Linked DNA regions of Homo sapiens: region 2 is linked to region 1. The links are contacts of gene promoters, found by promoter capture Hi-C in blood cells and fetal thymus (Javierre and others, 2016). All regions are on one chromosome and are shown on one strand. Each heading gives the region's core, a stretch centred on a gene start or on the middle of the fragment in contact. The rest is flanking DNA. Distances are from core to core; before and after follow the strand shown. Region 1 holds the start of XRCC5 (X-ray repair cross complementing 5). Region 2 has its middle 22 kb from the start of CXCR1.

What was found. Contacts are between HindIII fragments. The CHiCAGO score rates a contact against its expected background, and 5 or more counts as called.
Region 2: a fragment that was not itself captured here is called in contact with the fragment with the promoter of XRCC5 in region 1 in 1 of 17 cell types (neutrophils); the score reaches 5.0 in neutrophils.

What each region holds. Positions count from the first base shown.
Region 1 is chr2:216,104,721-216,112,499 of GRCh38, reverse strand. It overlaps XRCC5 (X-ray repair cross complementing 5), which reads right to left and starts at 3,152. Exons shown (of 21, transcript NM_021141.4): 1 at 3,043-3,152. The coding sequence starts at 3,063. RefSeq lists an enhancer at 2,807-3,428. The HindIII fragment of the contact is 16,954 bases long and covers 1-7,779 here.
Region 2 is chr2:218,185,321-218,193,099 of GRCh38, reverse strand. No RefSeq gene overlaps it. Among named protein-coding and RNA genes, the nearest start is that of CXCR1, 22 kb to the right of the region's middle. The HindIII fragment of the contact is 6,006 bases long and covers 1,009-7,014 here.

The DNA of each region.
Region 1 (7,779 bases), core at 1,903-4,402:
AACTGATGATCTAAAATAAAGACACCAAATCTATTCTAGTAGAGGACACAGACAGATAACAAATAATACCAGAACAATGTTCCATGATAGAAGTATGCACTGGGCACTGAGAGACACAGGAGGAGCATCCACTCAAGACTGGTGGAGGGGATACCAGAGCGGTGAAGGGGCAGAAAAGGCTTCCTGAATGTGGATTTCCTTGGGTGAGTCTTAATGAGTAGGAGTCAATCATGTGAACAAGTAAGTGACAGACGGAATCACATAAGCTAAGGCACAAGCCATTACATAGCAATCACGTATGTAGGAGACTAAGAAAATAAGAGAAACATAACCTAAAAGGAATACATGTAAAGTTATTTATACCTGGCTTCCAAATTTTACCTGAACACAAGCTGGAAGAGACCTGGATTGATGGCAACTCACAATTTCAGTGTGAATTATAAAATCAATCAACAACGTGAAATGTCTTTTGCACCACATTCCCCACACCTATCTTACTTCATCGCCTAAATATGTTGGTCTGTATCAACAGTGTAGTGAATTCAAGAAGAGAAAAGAAGGGTCTTCTGGTGAAAAAAGATAATAGCAATCGGGAGACCTGGGATCTAGTCCCATCTCTCCTACCCATTAGTTCTGAGTCCTTGGGAATGTCACTTAATCTCACTGTTAATAATACTAAAAGGTAGGAAACTGTTGGACTAGATGAGGTTTAAGGTCCTTTCTGGAGTTCACATTCCTTGACTCTGACTGATAGTCTCGCAGTGCTTTGTACCGATCAAACAAACTGTGAGCAGTTCTGGGCTAACATCTTACCAGGAAAATTAATTACAAATGAACATGAAATGAGCAGCTTAGGGAAGAATCTGAAGAATACATGATGTAAAGAACAGTTGGAAATAACTAGATATTTAAGTCAGATGAGAAGATTAAAGGGAACATAACAGTTTTCCTCCCCACCATTTTTTTTTCCTTTTTTTTGAGACATGGTCTCACTGTCACCCAGGCTGGAGTACAGTGGCATGATCATGGCTCACTACTGCCTCCATCTCCCGGGCTCAAGTGATCCCGCTACCTCAGCCTTCCAAATAGCTGGGACCACAGTTGCACCCCACCATGCCCAGCTAATTCTTAAATTTTTTTTGTAGAGTTGGGGTCTCACTGTGTTGCCCAGGCTGGTCTCAAACTCCTTGGCTTAAGCAATCCTCCCACCTCCGCCTCCCAAAGTGCTAGGATTACAGGTATAGGCCACCGTGTCTGGCCTCCCCCCAGATATTTGACAACTGTTGTATAAAAGGATTGGTCTGCCAAGAAAGACAACGGGATCAACAGATGGAAGTTACAGGGAGACTGATGCGACTCCATACGAGGGATAAAAAATAACATTTAGAAGTGATCAATAAAGAAACTACTCTTTTTTAAGTGATCTCTTGACCCTAGAAATGTTTTAAAAACCTGAATGAATTCCTATCAGGGAAGTTATAGATGATTTCTAAATGTGGTTATATCTCAGGCAACACATGAAAAGAAAAGATTATTTTTCACTAGTTTACAAACAACACAATGCACTAAGAGATTTCTGAAGTAAAATTAGATTATTTGAAAAAAAAAACGTGCTAATAAACCACAAAATTCCTTTGAGAACAGTAAAATGCACATCCCAGTTTCAATGCCTGGGGCATGATAACCTAAAAAAACTTAAGAGTCACAAAATATGCTGCTGCACTTATTTGATACACACCCACAAAAGCTACTTTTAAACCAGAAAACTCTAGAGGACTAAAGCACTTTTGTCATGAATTAGGTATCCAGTAAGTGCCATCAAAGGGTTTCAAATATGGAACTTATTGTCTGGAAGCAGAATGGTCTATATTTCTGAGTTCCTATCTGGCAGCAGTAAGAAAACTGAGAAAGAGAAACCGGGTAGCATAGCAACTCTTCATTTCTATACCGAAGCAATACAGGCTGTTAGAATTTTACTTCCAGTTCATCTGCAACAAACAGCTCCTCCACTAGAGCTACAAAGTTTTCAGCAGCTGAAAGAGGACGAAAAAAGGAGGTGAGTGGCATTATTAAAAGTTCATGATCGTTTTAATCAACATTTCTCAATGAGGAGTTGAGGGAACTAGGGATCAGTTGCTCAAACTCGTATCTTGTTTATCTGTATTGAATAAATTCATTAATCCCTGGAACCACATCTCCCTCTAGTGACCCTTCAGAGACAACTACCACTCTTTTATGTTGAAAAAAAAAAATCACTTTAAAATTCATTGTAATTTCTGTTACTGATCTGGGACACCAATGGTCATAGATTTCTAGCAACACAGGGGTTCTCCAGGGCCCTGAAACCAGACAGCTTGGATTCAAATCCGGATTTCACCAGGAAAAGCCCACAGTTCTTTATTCCTCGGTTTTCCCACTTGCAAAATGGGGATAAATAGTTTTCACTTCAAGGGGTTGTGAAGATTAAATGAGATAAGAATAAAAGGTTTAGATCCGTCCCTCACAGAGTGGGCTTTCAATAAATGCGGGATACTACGTTATTATAAAGCTAATAATACGACGCTTTACAGTTTAAGTTATTTTAGTCACAGATAGTCCCTCTCTTAAGTTTTACAACAAGCCCTGTGGGATAGTTGCTTTATCACAGCTAATTTTCATTCTCATAGAGATCTTAAGAACCCAGGCTCGGAAGTAATAGAGGAAGTGGGGCTAGGGAGTGGAATGGGATAAAGAGAGAGAGAGGGGAGGCGGGTGGGGAGGCAGGTGAGACAAAGAGCAGGTAGAGAGGGAGAAGAGGGATGGGATGGGTGGGTAATGGAAGAGGTGGAGTCAGCGAGGCTCAAATTCAGGTCTTGGAGCCCCAAATCTCCAGCTTTTCTCATAGCGCATCCCTCGGTCCCGGCCCTCCTGACTGAGCCCACCACCATGATCTTCTCTTGCCCCATTCTTTGTCTTGACCGCGATCCCACGATTCCTGCTTCCGAACCACCCTCTCCGGATCCCCAGTCCGGGTAAAGCCCAAGTCCATGGCTTTCTTTATACCTTATTCCCCGACCGCACCATGTTGCCGGTCCTCAGGCGCTTTGGTCGCTTCTTCCGGGCGGGAACCTGCCGTGTCGCAACTCGCTTCCGGTGGACAAGCGGCAGATAGCGGAAAGAGCCGCTTCGTTTCCTGCTAGGCCTGAAAGGGGCGGGGAAACCGTGCCCCGGAACTCTGAGCATGCGCAGATTCCCGCCGAGCTTGCGCAGATTCCCGCCGAGCTCGCGCAGATTCCGGCCGAGCATGCGCAGATTCTCTCCGAGCATGCGCAGATTCCCGCCGAGCATGCGCAGATTCCCGCCGAGCATGCGCACATTCTCTCCATTCCGCCGTAGTCGGGAGCGTGTGGTGTTTGAGCCGCCTGAAACGCTAGTACGACAGATTTACTTAAAGATTCACTTAATCACTTAAAGATTCACGTCCCTTTTCTCTCATTGAGAATAACACCTAAGGCATTTTGTGTCAGAGCTCTGGAGTTAGATTTCTTTTCTTTTTTTTACTTTTTTAAAAAATCTTTTTTCCTTTAATTTCATTTTTTCATTTATTTTTTATAACTTTTGATTTTTTTTTTTCTCATCACTTGTGGGTTTTTTTCTACTTTTTATTTTTGGTTATTGTGGAGTTAGATTTTCTTGAGTATGAGTATGAATGCAGAAAGTCACTTAACTTCTCTAAAAGACTCAGTTTCTTCTAAAAAGTGATAATGAAACACTTCACCGATGTGATAACCTTAGAGCCAACTGGGGAAGAAGAGTAGGACGTCCCCAGGAGCACAAAAGTAGAAGGGAGATTCTACTCTGCAGAGAAAATGGGATGCACAAACGCCTGGAGGCATGAGACTTTATCTGCTAAGGCTCTCCCAGTAGTTAGCAGTGGCTCCAGCTTGGAAGGGAGGAGTCAAGGTTTAATTTAGAAGACAAGTCTAGGGAGATATAGAAATAGCAGCTGTCATCACAGTGCTTTACTTGATCACGAGCCCTTTGTCCAGCCCGCATCCCCTACCCCTTTGAGGGAGGCAGGCCCAAGCAGTACCTTGCATAGAAATGACTGCTTTCTATACCATATGACCCCCAGCTGACAGGTGGCTGGACGAAGGGTCTGGCAACCTGCAAAGTGTCTGCAAACCTCTGCCCAAACTGAGAAAATCAAGTCCAATCAATATTCTCTCCTGCTTGAAAATTGTTTCTGGGAAAAGCAAGAATTGAAGCTGAAAAGATGTGGAGAATCTATGAGCCAAAATTATAAATACATTGAAGCCTCTAGAATGTAGAGTCAGACATATTCAGAGGTGCTCATAGAGCCCAGGAGGTTCTTCCAGCTTTTGATTCAAACTCAAGGAGTTACTTAAAAGCTGAAATATTATTTTTAATAATACTTTAAAGGAACAGCAGCGCCCTGGCCGCTCAGCTTTGCGCGGGCTGCAGCAGGCAGGCAGGCAGGCACGGACACTCGCCCTTCCCTGCGGGTAAGATTTCCAAGAGAAAGATCAGCTCGGCAGAAGGGGCGGGGAAGATCTGTGAGGTTGTCAGCTAAATCTCCTCCAGCAAAGGTGGAAACGAAGCCCAGCGGAGGCAGCAGGACAGCATAAATTTTCAGACAAAGAAGCAAACAAGGAAAAATGGGAGCAAAGGGCAAACAGGCCAAGTGGCTATCCGGGAAACAAAAGATTTATCTGTGGAAAGCGGAGAAACTGAAACAAGGAGAGTCCAGCCTCTGGTGAAGCAGGACAGAAAGAAGCCAAATCTGATTAGTATCACATACCATATCTTGTCAGTGGTCCTTGTCTCCCTTCTTGTACGATCCAGAGCTAGAGAGAGAGAGAAAAGGAAAGAAACAGACAGGGTGTCGCTCGGCCGAGGCTGGAGTCCAGTAGCACAATCATAGCTCTCTGCACCCTGGAACCCCTGGGCTCAAGCGATTCACTTACCTCAGCCTCCCAGGTAGCTGGGACCACAGGTGTGTGCCACCAAGCCCAGCTAATTTTTGTGGGGTTTCTGTGTGTGTGTGGAGGCGGGGTCTTCCTATGTTGCCCAGCCTGGTCTTGAACTCCTGGGATCAAGCGATCCTCCCGCTTCAGCCTCCCAAAGTGCTGGGATGACAGGTGTGAGCAACTGCACTTGGCCTCAGAGGAATATTTTTATCAACTATTTTGATAAGGAATATTTTTATCAACTATTTTTAAATGCAAGTTTTTTAGTAGCTGTAGAAACTTTTTTTTTTTTTTTTTTTTTTGAGACAGAGTTTCCCTCTTGTTGCCCAGGCTGGAGTGTAGTGGCGCGAATTCTGCTTACGGCAACCTCCGCCTGCCGGGTTCAAGCGATTCTCCTGCTTCAGCCTCCCAAGTAGCTGGGATTACAGGCATGTGCCACCACACCCAGCTAATTTTGTATTTTTAGTAGAGATGGGGTTTCTCCATCTTGGTCAGGCTGGTCTCGAACTCCCGACCTCAGGTAATCCGCCCACCTTGACCTCCCAAAGTACTGGGATTACAGGCGTGAGCCTGTGCCTGGCTGAAACATTTTTAGGAAGGAGGGAATCCCACTTTATCCCATTTTTAAAGTGTAGCTTTTAAAAGGTGAAATAATTCACTTGTTTGTTGTTTGGTACAACCAGGAAACACTGAAATAGTGAATAATGGGAGGCTTTCACTGTCTTCGAAGTCAGTTTAACATTCCCTAGGGAGAGGGTATTTTATTTCCTACAGTACAGCGCATACTAAATGGCAATATAGAGCCACAGTCATGCATTTAATGTGTCTTGAAAATTTTAAATTACTTTTATTTTCATGGGTTTTTTTAGTAGAATTGTTTCCTGAAGAAAACCACTCCTTGGTCACGTTGCTATCCGTGTCAAAATTGTGTGCAGTCTGTAACATCTTTGGTTGTGCTAGTCCCATTTTCCTGATAACTTTGTTAATGTGCTTTGAAAGACTGAAAATTTGAGTGGGTAGAGTATATGATATTAAATTGTGAATTGGTGGGACTTATGTAACAACTTATCAGCATGTGGAGATAATGTACCCTGATACCCTCTTTTTTTTTGAGAACAGTCTCACTCTGCGCCCAGGCTGGAGTGCAGTGGCACGATCTCGGCTCACTACAAACCTCCGCCGCTCCCACCCGCCACCAGGCTCAAGCGATTTTCCTGCGTCAGCCTACCAAGTAGCTGGGATTATAGGCACCCACCACTGTGCCGGCTAATTTTTGTATTTTTAGTAGAGACGGGATTTTGCCATGTTGGCCAGGCTGGTCTCGAACTCCTGACCTCAGGTGATCCGCCCACCTCAGCCTCCCAAAGTGCTGGGATTACAGATGTGATCCACCGCGCTCAGCCTAAAAAATATTTTTAATAAGACTGGTAAAGAGAATTACTGGAGACTCAGTACAGTGAAGGAAATTTGCATGCTTTATGTCCATGTTTTTATCTTGTATATGGTCTCTATTTTTCCTCTTCCTTTCTCTCTCTCTCTCCCTTCCTCCTTCCCTCCCTCCCTCTTGCTTTTCCCCTTCCTCTTCCTCCTGCTCCTCCTCCTCCCCCTTCTTCTCCTTCTCCCTGTCCCCACTCTCTGTCTTCCATACACCCTTCAGTACAGGTCTGTTTCTTGGAAGAAATAAAAGAGGTTCTAGTAGCTGTGCTTGTTTGCATCTCAGCTGTTTTTATAGAAGTCTTTAGAACCAGCCACCTCTGTGCAGCTAGGCATCTGTGACGCTGAAAAGGGATATGGACTTTAAGCATTGCTTCCCCTGGCAAAGGGCCTTCATTAATCAAGGGTCAAGGGATAAACATTATTAATGATGTGACAGCATATATGGCTACTCCCTTCCTCCTCCACAACAAAAGGATTCTGGCTTTGTTCGTTCTGTTTCTGTCAGTGCAAGGTCCTTTTGGATTTAAATGATACAGAATTGGGAATAAAGGGGGACAGGAGGTTGATGGGCTATGACTAGTGGTGGTGATGGTATGTGTGTTGGGGGACAGAAGGGGGAGTTAGAGAGAAATGTGTAAAAGCCACTGTGGCATATGAGGGAAATAAATGGGATAGGAAAGGGGGAATGGCAAAATGTCATTTTGGTGATGCGTGTGAGCCATGCCTCTCAGCATTCACACCCTTATGTAGTTCCTTCCCCGTGAATCTGGACAGGCCTCATGACCTGCTATAACCAGTAAAATGTGTAGGCATTTACAGAACAGTAGGTAGTTCTGGGCTGAAGCCTTTAGAATACCTGGCAGATTTGTCTTTTGCACCCTGGTGAACCCAGATACCATGTATGAAGACTGCCATGCTGTGAAAGCCCAACATAGCCACATGAAGGAGCCCTATTATGGACTGAGTGTGTCTCCCCAAAATTCATATGTTGAGATTCTAACCCCCAATGTGATGATATTTGGAGATGAGGCCTTTGGGAGGTGATCAGATTTAGGTAAAGTCATGAGGGTGGCCCTCCTGATGGAATTAGTGCTTCTGTGAAAAGAAACAAGAGACAAAGGGACGCTAGAGAGCTCGCTCGCTCTCTCTCTCTCTCCCCCTCCCTCCCTCCCCATCTCTCCCTCTCTCCCTCTCTCCCCACTCACACAAAGAGATCATGTGAACACAGAGTGAGAAGACAGCCACTTGCAACCCAAGAAGAGATCCCTCCAGCCTCTAGAACTGTGAGAAAACTAATTTCTGTCATTTAAGCTACCTAGTCTATGGTATTATCTGTTATGACAGCCCAAGTCTGTTATGGTAGCCCAAGTGG
Region 2 (7,779 bases), core at 2,762-5,261, 2.1 Mb before region 1:
AGGAGGCAAAAATCTTGGCTGTGTCATGCACTGGGCTTTAGAGACCTAGGGAATGTTTAGTTTTCTGTTTGTCTATTTCCAAACATTATGTGTGTAATTTATTGTCCCGATTATAACTCAACACGGTTGGAAGATGTGAGCCATTCAAGTCACAGATTTGTGTGAGAAGCACAAGAGAAAATAAGTGCATCTGGGAGCTGCGACCACCAATAGTTTTTATCATTGCCAAGACAACACTTTGAGAGCCAACGTTTTGATCAATTCCTTGTCAAAAATAAATCATGATTTATTTTCCCTAAACTTGCTGTTTCTCTTGCATTCCCTGTCTTGGTAAATGGTACAACTATCTACGCAGTCATGCCAGGCTTTCCTCACCCTGGCACACAACACTTTGACCACATTATGCAGATTCCTTCCCCTAATTACACAGTAACATGCCCCTCCCCCTTTCCCTTTATTCTCCTACGGAGGATGGTGGCCGCAATCTCCTACACTCTGTGTTTTCTTGGTTGTTAGAAAACCTGGGATGCCTGTTAATCATATAGGTTCCCAGGCCCTTCCCCTAGACTCAGCAGGTCTGGAGGGGGCCTTGCAATCTGTATACTTAACAAGTACCCCAGGCAATTCTTCTGAGCAGTGGGTAGCACTAGTACCTGGCTGGCCTTGCTTCAGGTCTCTCTCTTGTCAGTGTAGCCCCATTCTGCTGTAGAAGTATCTTCCTAAACTATGCTGGTGGTTCTTTATCTGCAGCGCAAAATCCAAACTCTTGTAGCATGGCAAACAGGGCATGATTTGGTTCCTACCTCCCTTGCTGGCCTCGTCTACTTCCCTGGTTGCTCATAATACAAACTGCCTGTTAACTCTGAGGATTCCATTGCTCTGTTATTGCTCAATGCCTTTGCACATGCTGTTCTTTGTGCCTAGACAGGCCTCCTTCCCCAGGTCTATCTGGAAAATCCCTATTCATCCTGCAAGACCCAACTCAAGTGTTGCCTCTTTCTGGAAGCTTTTCTTGCTGTCACTGCAGCTTGAACGTACATGTATTATTGCAGTTACCCCTGTGGCTCCGCTATAGCAGAGACTGTGCTTAGCCCACAGGTTCACCTAGTATTTGTAGTAGTAGGTGCTTGTTAAACAGGGTTGAATAAAGGTAGCTTCTCCTATGTGAGAGGAAATGTAGTGAAAGCAAGTAGAGCAATTTTTAGGAAAACAGTATTCCCATCTTTAGCTTGTGAGTCTAAACTCTCAGGAGTTTCTTACTGTGAAAATCAGTCATCATTTTATCTGTGTGCATTTACGAAGTCAATATATTAAACTGTTTAACAGTAGTTAACATATATCTGGTGCCAACCAGTGTGCCAGGAACTTTGCATTCACCATCTCACTTCGTCCTGCAGATGAGGAAACCGAGGCTCAGAGGAGAATTAATTTTCCCAAGGTCACGGCCAGGTGTGGTGGCTCATGCCTATAATCCCAGAACTTTGGGAGGCTGAGGCAGGTGGATCAGCTGAGGTCAGGAGTTCAAGACCAGCCTGGCCAACATGGTGAAACCCCATCTCTACTAAAAATACAAAAATTAGCCAGGCGTGATAGTATGCACCTGTAATCCCAGCTACTTGGGAGGCTGAGGTAGAAGAATCACTTGAACCCAGGAGGCAGAGCTTGTAGTGAGCCGAGATCAGGCCACTGCACTCCAGCCTGGGCGACAGAGTGAGACGCCTTCTCAAAAAAAAAAAAAAAAAAAAAAAAAAAAAATTCCCGAGATTACAAAACTGGTAAATAGTAGAATTGTTACAATGCTATTCTGCTTCTTCCAGAGATTTAGTTAACAATCATTAGGATATGCAGTATGTGTCTAGGATGAAACACTCTAGGTAATGTAAATGAGTGAAGCACTCTGGCCATGAGGCAAGGAGGGGTAGAAAGTGTGGCAACCAGTTACAGGTTAAAGAAGTTGGCCAAGACAATGCCAGCTGATAGCCCCAACATGTTATTGTGAACAATTTTAAACATAAAGAAAAGTTGGGCCTGGCGCAGTGGCTCACGCCTGTAATCCCAATACTTTGGGAGGCCGAGGTGGGTGGATCACCCGAGGTCAGGAGTTTGAGACCAGCCTGACCAACATGGAGAAACGCTGTCTATTAAAAATACAAAAAATTAGCCAGGTGTGGTGGCTCATGCCTGTAATCCCAACTACTCGGGAGGCTGAGGCAGGAGAATTGCTTGAACCCAGGAGGCAGAGGTTGCAGCGAGCTGAGATCACGCCATCGCACTCCAGCCTGGGCAACAAGAGTGAAACTCCATCTCAAAAAAAAAAAAAAAAAAAAAAGAGAAAAGAAAAGTTGACAGAATTTCACTGTCTACTTGTACATCTACTACCTAGATTCTGCCATTAACATTTTACCTGCTTTATCTCATATTTATCCATTATCCATCCCTATAGCCATTAATCTATTCTTTTGGATGTGTTTCAAAGTAACTGTGGACACCAGTATACTTCTCCCTAAATACATCAGTGTGTACATCATTGATTAGAGATCAATATTTGTTTATAGTTTTTTTTTTTTTTTTGAGACGGAGTCTCTGTTGCCCACACTGGAGTGCAGTGGTGCGATCTTGGCTCACTGCAACCTCCGCCTCCCAAATTCAAGTGATTCTCCTGCCTCAGCCTCCCAAGTAGCTGGGATTACAGGCATGCGCCACCATGCCCTGCTAATTTTTGTATTTTTAGTAGAGACGGGGCTTCACCATGTTGGCCAGGCTGGTCTCAAACTCCTGACCTCAAGTGATCCTCCTACCTTGGCCTCCTAAAGTGCTAGGATTACAGGCGTGAGCCACTGCACCTGGCCTTTAGTGTTTTCTTTTGATGTAAAATTTGTAGACAATGAAGTGCACAAATCTTAAGTGTATATTCACTAAGTTTCAACTAATAGGTGCCCCTGTGTAATCCCAATGCCCATCAATATAGAAAACATTACCATCATTCCTAAAAATCCTCTCATGTCCCCCCATGGCTGGTTTGTCTCTGCCTCCATCCTCCCAGAGGTAACTTCTGCTCTGATTATTTTCAGATTAGTTTCACCTGTTCTAGAACTTCATAGAAGTGGAAGGCTTCTTTTACTCAGTGTAATGTTTTTAAGATACATCATGTTGTGGAGTATATCAGTAATTCAGTCCTTTTTATTGATGAGAATGACTCCATTGTATGACTATTCCACTGTATGTTTAGCCATTCTCCTATTGATGGACACCTGGACTGTTTCTAGTTTTTGGCAATTATCAATAAAGCTATTGATATTTTTGTGAACATATTATTTTCATTTCTCTTGGGCATATTCCTAGGAGTGGGATTGCTGGGTCAGAAAGTAGAAGAAACTGCCAGACCTTTTACCAAAGTGTTTGCACCATTTTACATTCCCACTAATTATATGTGAGGATTCCAGCTATACTACAACCCACTAATAGTCGATATTATCATGCTTTTGTATTTTTAGTCATTCTGGTGATGTGATGTTTGATTGTGTAATGAGATTTCTTTTCTTTTTCTTTCTTTTTTTTCTTTTCAGATAGAATCTCACTTTCACCCAGGCTGGGTCTCAGCTCACTGCAACCTCTGCCTACGAGGCTCAAACAATTCTCCCACCTCAGCCTCTTGAGTAGTTGGGACTATAGGTGCATATCAGCACGCCTGGCTAATTTTTGCATTTTTTGTAGAGATGGGGTTTCGCCAGGCTGCCCAGGCTGGTCTCAAACTCCTGGCCTCAAGTGATCCACCTGCCTTGGCCTCCCAAAGTGCGTGGATTACAGGCGTGAGCCACTGTGTCTGGCCCACATTGTTGATAAAACCTTCCTTTCCCTCACTGGATTGCTTTGGAACTTCTGTTGAAAATCAAGTGATGGTGTAAGTGTGGCTCTATTTCTAGGATTTCTTTTACATTCTAGGTTTAGCTGAGTTTTGCCATGAGCTCAGTGTTGTCAAATCTTCAATTTTTTTTTTTTTTTTTTTTTTTTTTAAGATGGAGTTTTGCTTTTGTCTCCCAGGCTGGAGTGCAATGGTATGATCTCGGCTCACTGCAACCTCTACCTCCCGGGTTCAAGTGATTCTCCCGCCTCAGCCTCCTGAGTAGCTGGGATTACAGGTGCATGCCACCATGTCCAGCAAATTTTCATATTTTTAGTGGAGACAGGGTTTCACCATGTTGGCCAGGCTCTTCTTGAACTCCTGACCTCAGGTGATCCACCCGCCTTGGCCTCCCAAAGAGCTGGGATTACAGGCATGAGCCATGGCGCCCAGCCCAGATCTTCAAAATTTTAAAGGAGAGTGTATAAATCCAGATGTTTTTAAATGTGAAAAAGCCTCAAGGTTTAAAAGTCAGAAACCAATTCTAATTTAAACAAACAAGGAAACCAATCCCAGGCAGTCAAAGAAACTCATCTGCAGGCTGAACTAGATGTGTGGCATTGGAACAGGGAGAGGTAGTTTCAGCAGGAGTCTGGATACATGTGTGTATATATATGTATATAAAATTATTTTTTGAGACAAGGTTTTGGTCTGTTGCCCAGGCTGGAGTGCAGTGGTGTGATCATGGCTCATTGCATCCTTGACCTCCTGGGCTTGAGCAATCCTCCCACCTCAGCCTCCTGAGTAGCTGGGACCACAGGTGTGTTCCACCACACCTGGCTAATTTTGAAAATTGCTTTGTAGAGGTATGAGGTTCCACTGTGTTGCCCAGGCTGGTCTTGAATGCCTGGGCTTAAACGATCCTCCTGCCTCGACCTCCTAAAGTGCTGGAATTACAGGGGTGAGCCACTGTGCCCAGCCTGGATATATGTATATTAAAGTATAAATCAAGGGTCTTATTTTAATTGAAAGATAATGGGAGTGTTCTCAGGGCAAGTAGGTGGGTTCCAGTGGTCAGTGAAAGTCAATAAGAATTCACTGCAAGGGTAAAATTAAAGCCTGTGGGTCAAGGTTTCCTTGGTGCCTAGGAAAGTGGAGGAGCACATTTGTGAAGCTATTAGAATTGCATTTAGAAACCGTAAGGACAGGAAGGGCTAAGGGGAGGCACTGAGTGGAGGCAGTTGACAAACCAGTGACAGGAAAGACACAGGGCCAAGAGAGCCCAAAGTGAGCTGATTTGGAGAATCTGGAGCAGAGGGAATAAAGAGAATCACAGGTCTCTAAACCCAGGGCCCAGAAAGATGCTCCCTGGAATTGGCTGGAGGCTTCCTTGGCTCTGTGGGTGGAAATTGAGACAGAGCAGCCAGAAGACATACAACTGCACATGCCAGAGCTTAGAGCAGTTTCTCAGCTGCACCACAGACCTCCTGCCACCATGGTTGAATTATGACTGTTTAACATTTTAAAATTATTTTTTAAACATTGAAAATATGTAATGGGAACTATGTCACATGTTTCAAAAAAAAAAAAATTAAAAGCTATTCACAAGGAGTCTTCTTCCCACCTGTCTCCCATCTGCCCAGTTTCCATCTAGAACCCCTCCACCCTCCAGCCCCCTGGTCACCATTTGTGAGGTTTATTTTTACTGCAACCATGGATACCGCTTTGGCAGCCAAGTCCATCAGACAGAATGTTGACTATGCAGGTTGGGCCATATCGGGTAGAGCTTGGTACGGCTGGCCACGTGTAAGAGAAAATAAGCAAGCCTGCATCAAAGACAGATAAAAGTTTGTTAGAACTTGCTAGAGCCTTGACTCATGAATATGTAAGGGAGTGTTATCAGGGAAGGAAATCATTCCTGTTAAACTGTGACATGGTGCTTGCTATGGACTCAAAATGTTTGTGTCTTCACCAAGTTTATATGTTGAAGTCCTAACCCCTGTTGTGATGGTATTTGGAGGTGGGGCCTTTGGAGAGGTGATAGATTATGAGGGTAGGGCCCCCATGTGGAATTAGTGTCCTCATAAGAACAGGAAGAGACCAGACCTCTCTTTCTTTCTCTCCACCACATGAGGACACATTGAGAAGGCAGCCATCTGCAAGCCAGGAGGGTGCCCTCATCATAACCCAACCATGCTGGCACCCTGATCTGGGGCTTCTAGTCTCCAGGACTGTGAGAAGCACATTTCTGTTGTTGAGATCACCAGTATTTTGTTATGGCAGCCCAAGCTGGAGGACCAAAAAACTGTGAAACGATCTTCAGTTCTCAGAAACTTGCTTTCTGTATACCTTTTAATCCCTTGGCCAGTAAGTCCAAATGTGCTGTATTTGAAAGTGTGGGTTCACTCAGAGAGGCTGAGAACCTTCTGGAAGAAGGGTCTGTGGGCTGGAAATGGGGGTTGACCATGGGGACAGGACTGTTAAGTGCTTGGAACCTGTGACAAGTTGAGGAACATGGGACCACATGGGTGATATCGTTTAATTGCTCAGTGCAAACTCCGCTCACACTCCGGCAATGGCTAAACTCTCATCTAGGAGCACTTTAAGGGGAGAATGAATGTATGTGAAAGGGTTTGCAAACTTTAAAGGGTGGTGTTAAGTTCTAGACGTGGGCTGCCGAACCCAATTTACAGTTGTACTTCCATAGGGTAGAGGAATTTTCACGTGGGTTACTTCCTTGTGCTCCTCCAGTTATTTGGTTTGATTTGAAGATAATGCTGCCCTCTCCTGGACTGGTCTTGCAACTCCAGGCCCTGGCCTCCAAGAGTAGATTCTGCACCTGCCCCCGCCTCCCCCCACCAAGCAACCTTGCGTGATCTCAGGTGTTATCAGAACAGTTAGTGGTCTCCTGCTCTGCTAAGTCATTTCTTACAGCCGTGGTGGGCTTAACTTTCCCTCCAGTGTTATTTCCCAGAGACTGGAGGCAAGAGAAACATAGGGCAAGTCACTGGTGGGTCCTCAATTTCTAGAAATAGAATCCTTCTTTTCTTCTTTTGCTTTGCTTTCAACAACTGTTTATTGTACCCTCTACTTGCCAAGGAGATGTGTAATGTCTCCTAGGCACATGGGATACAGTGGTCAAAATGGATACGGATCCCTGCCTTCGTGAAGCTTATATGCACCAGAGGAGGCAGACAATAAACAATAGCCTCTATAATAAACAAGCAAATGGTATAGGATGTTAGGAAGGGATGACTGCAGCAAGGAAAGAAGCATGTGTTAAATTGATGAGGGCAAGGGATATCAGGAAGTCTTGGGGAGGTGCAGATGCAGATGGGGGACAGTGTGGGCCTCAGCAAGAAGGTGGGTTGGAGAAAACACTTAGAAGAGGTGAGGGAATTACCTGCAGGAGCAGCTAAGGAAGAGCTTTCTGAGGGGGTGAATGGCCAGAGTCAATGCCCTAAGGCAAGAGCTGTACAAGGCCAGTATGTCTGGAGCTGAGCTACAAGGGGTGAAGTGGAAGTGGTTAGAGGGTGTTATGGGTTGAATAGTGTCCTCTCCCCGCAAATTCATATTTTGAAGTTCTAAACTCCAGTACATCAGAAGGTGGCCTTATCTGGAATTGGGGTCATTGCAGATGTTATTAGTTAAGATAATGTCATTAGAGGGGGGACACTAATCCAATATGACTGCTGTCCATATAAAAAGGGACACAGAGAAATGCACAGAGGAAGAATGCACCGTGAAGTGGAAGGCAGAGATTGGGGTGATGCCTCTACTGGTCAAGGAACACCAAAGATTGCCAGCAAGCACCAAAGCTGGGAAGAGGCACAGAACAGACTAGATTCTCCCTTATAGCCTTTGGAAGGAACTAACCCTGCTACATTTTGGTCTCGAACTTCTGGTCTCCAAAACTATGAGATAAGAAATTTCCGTTT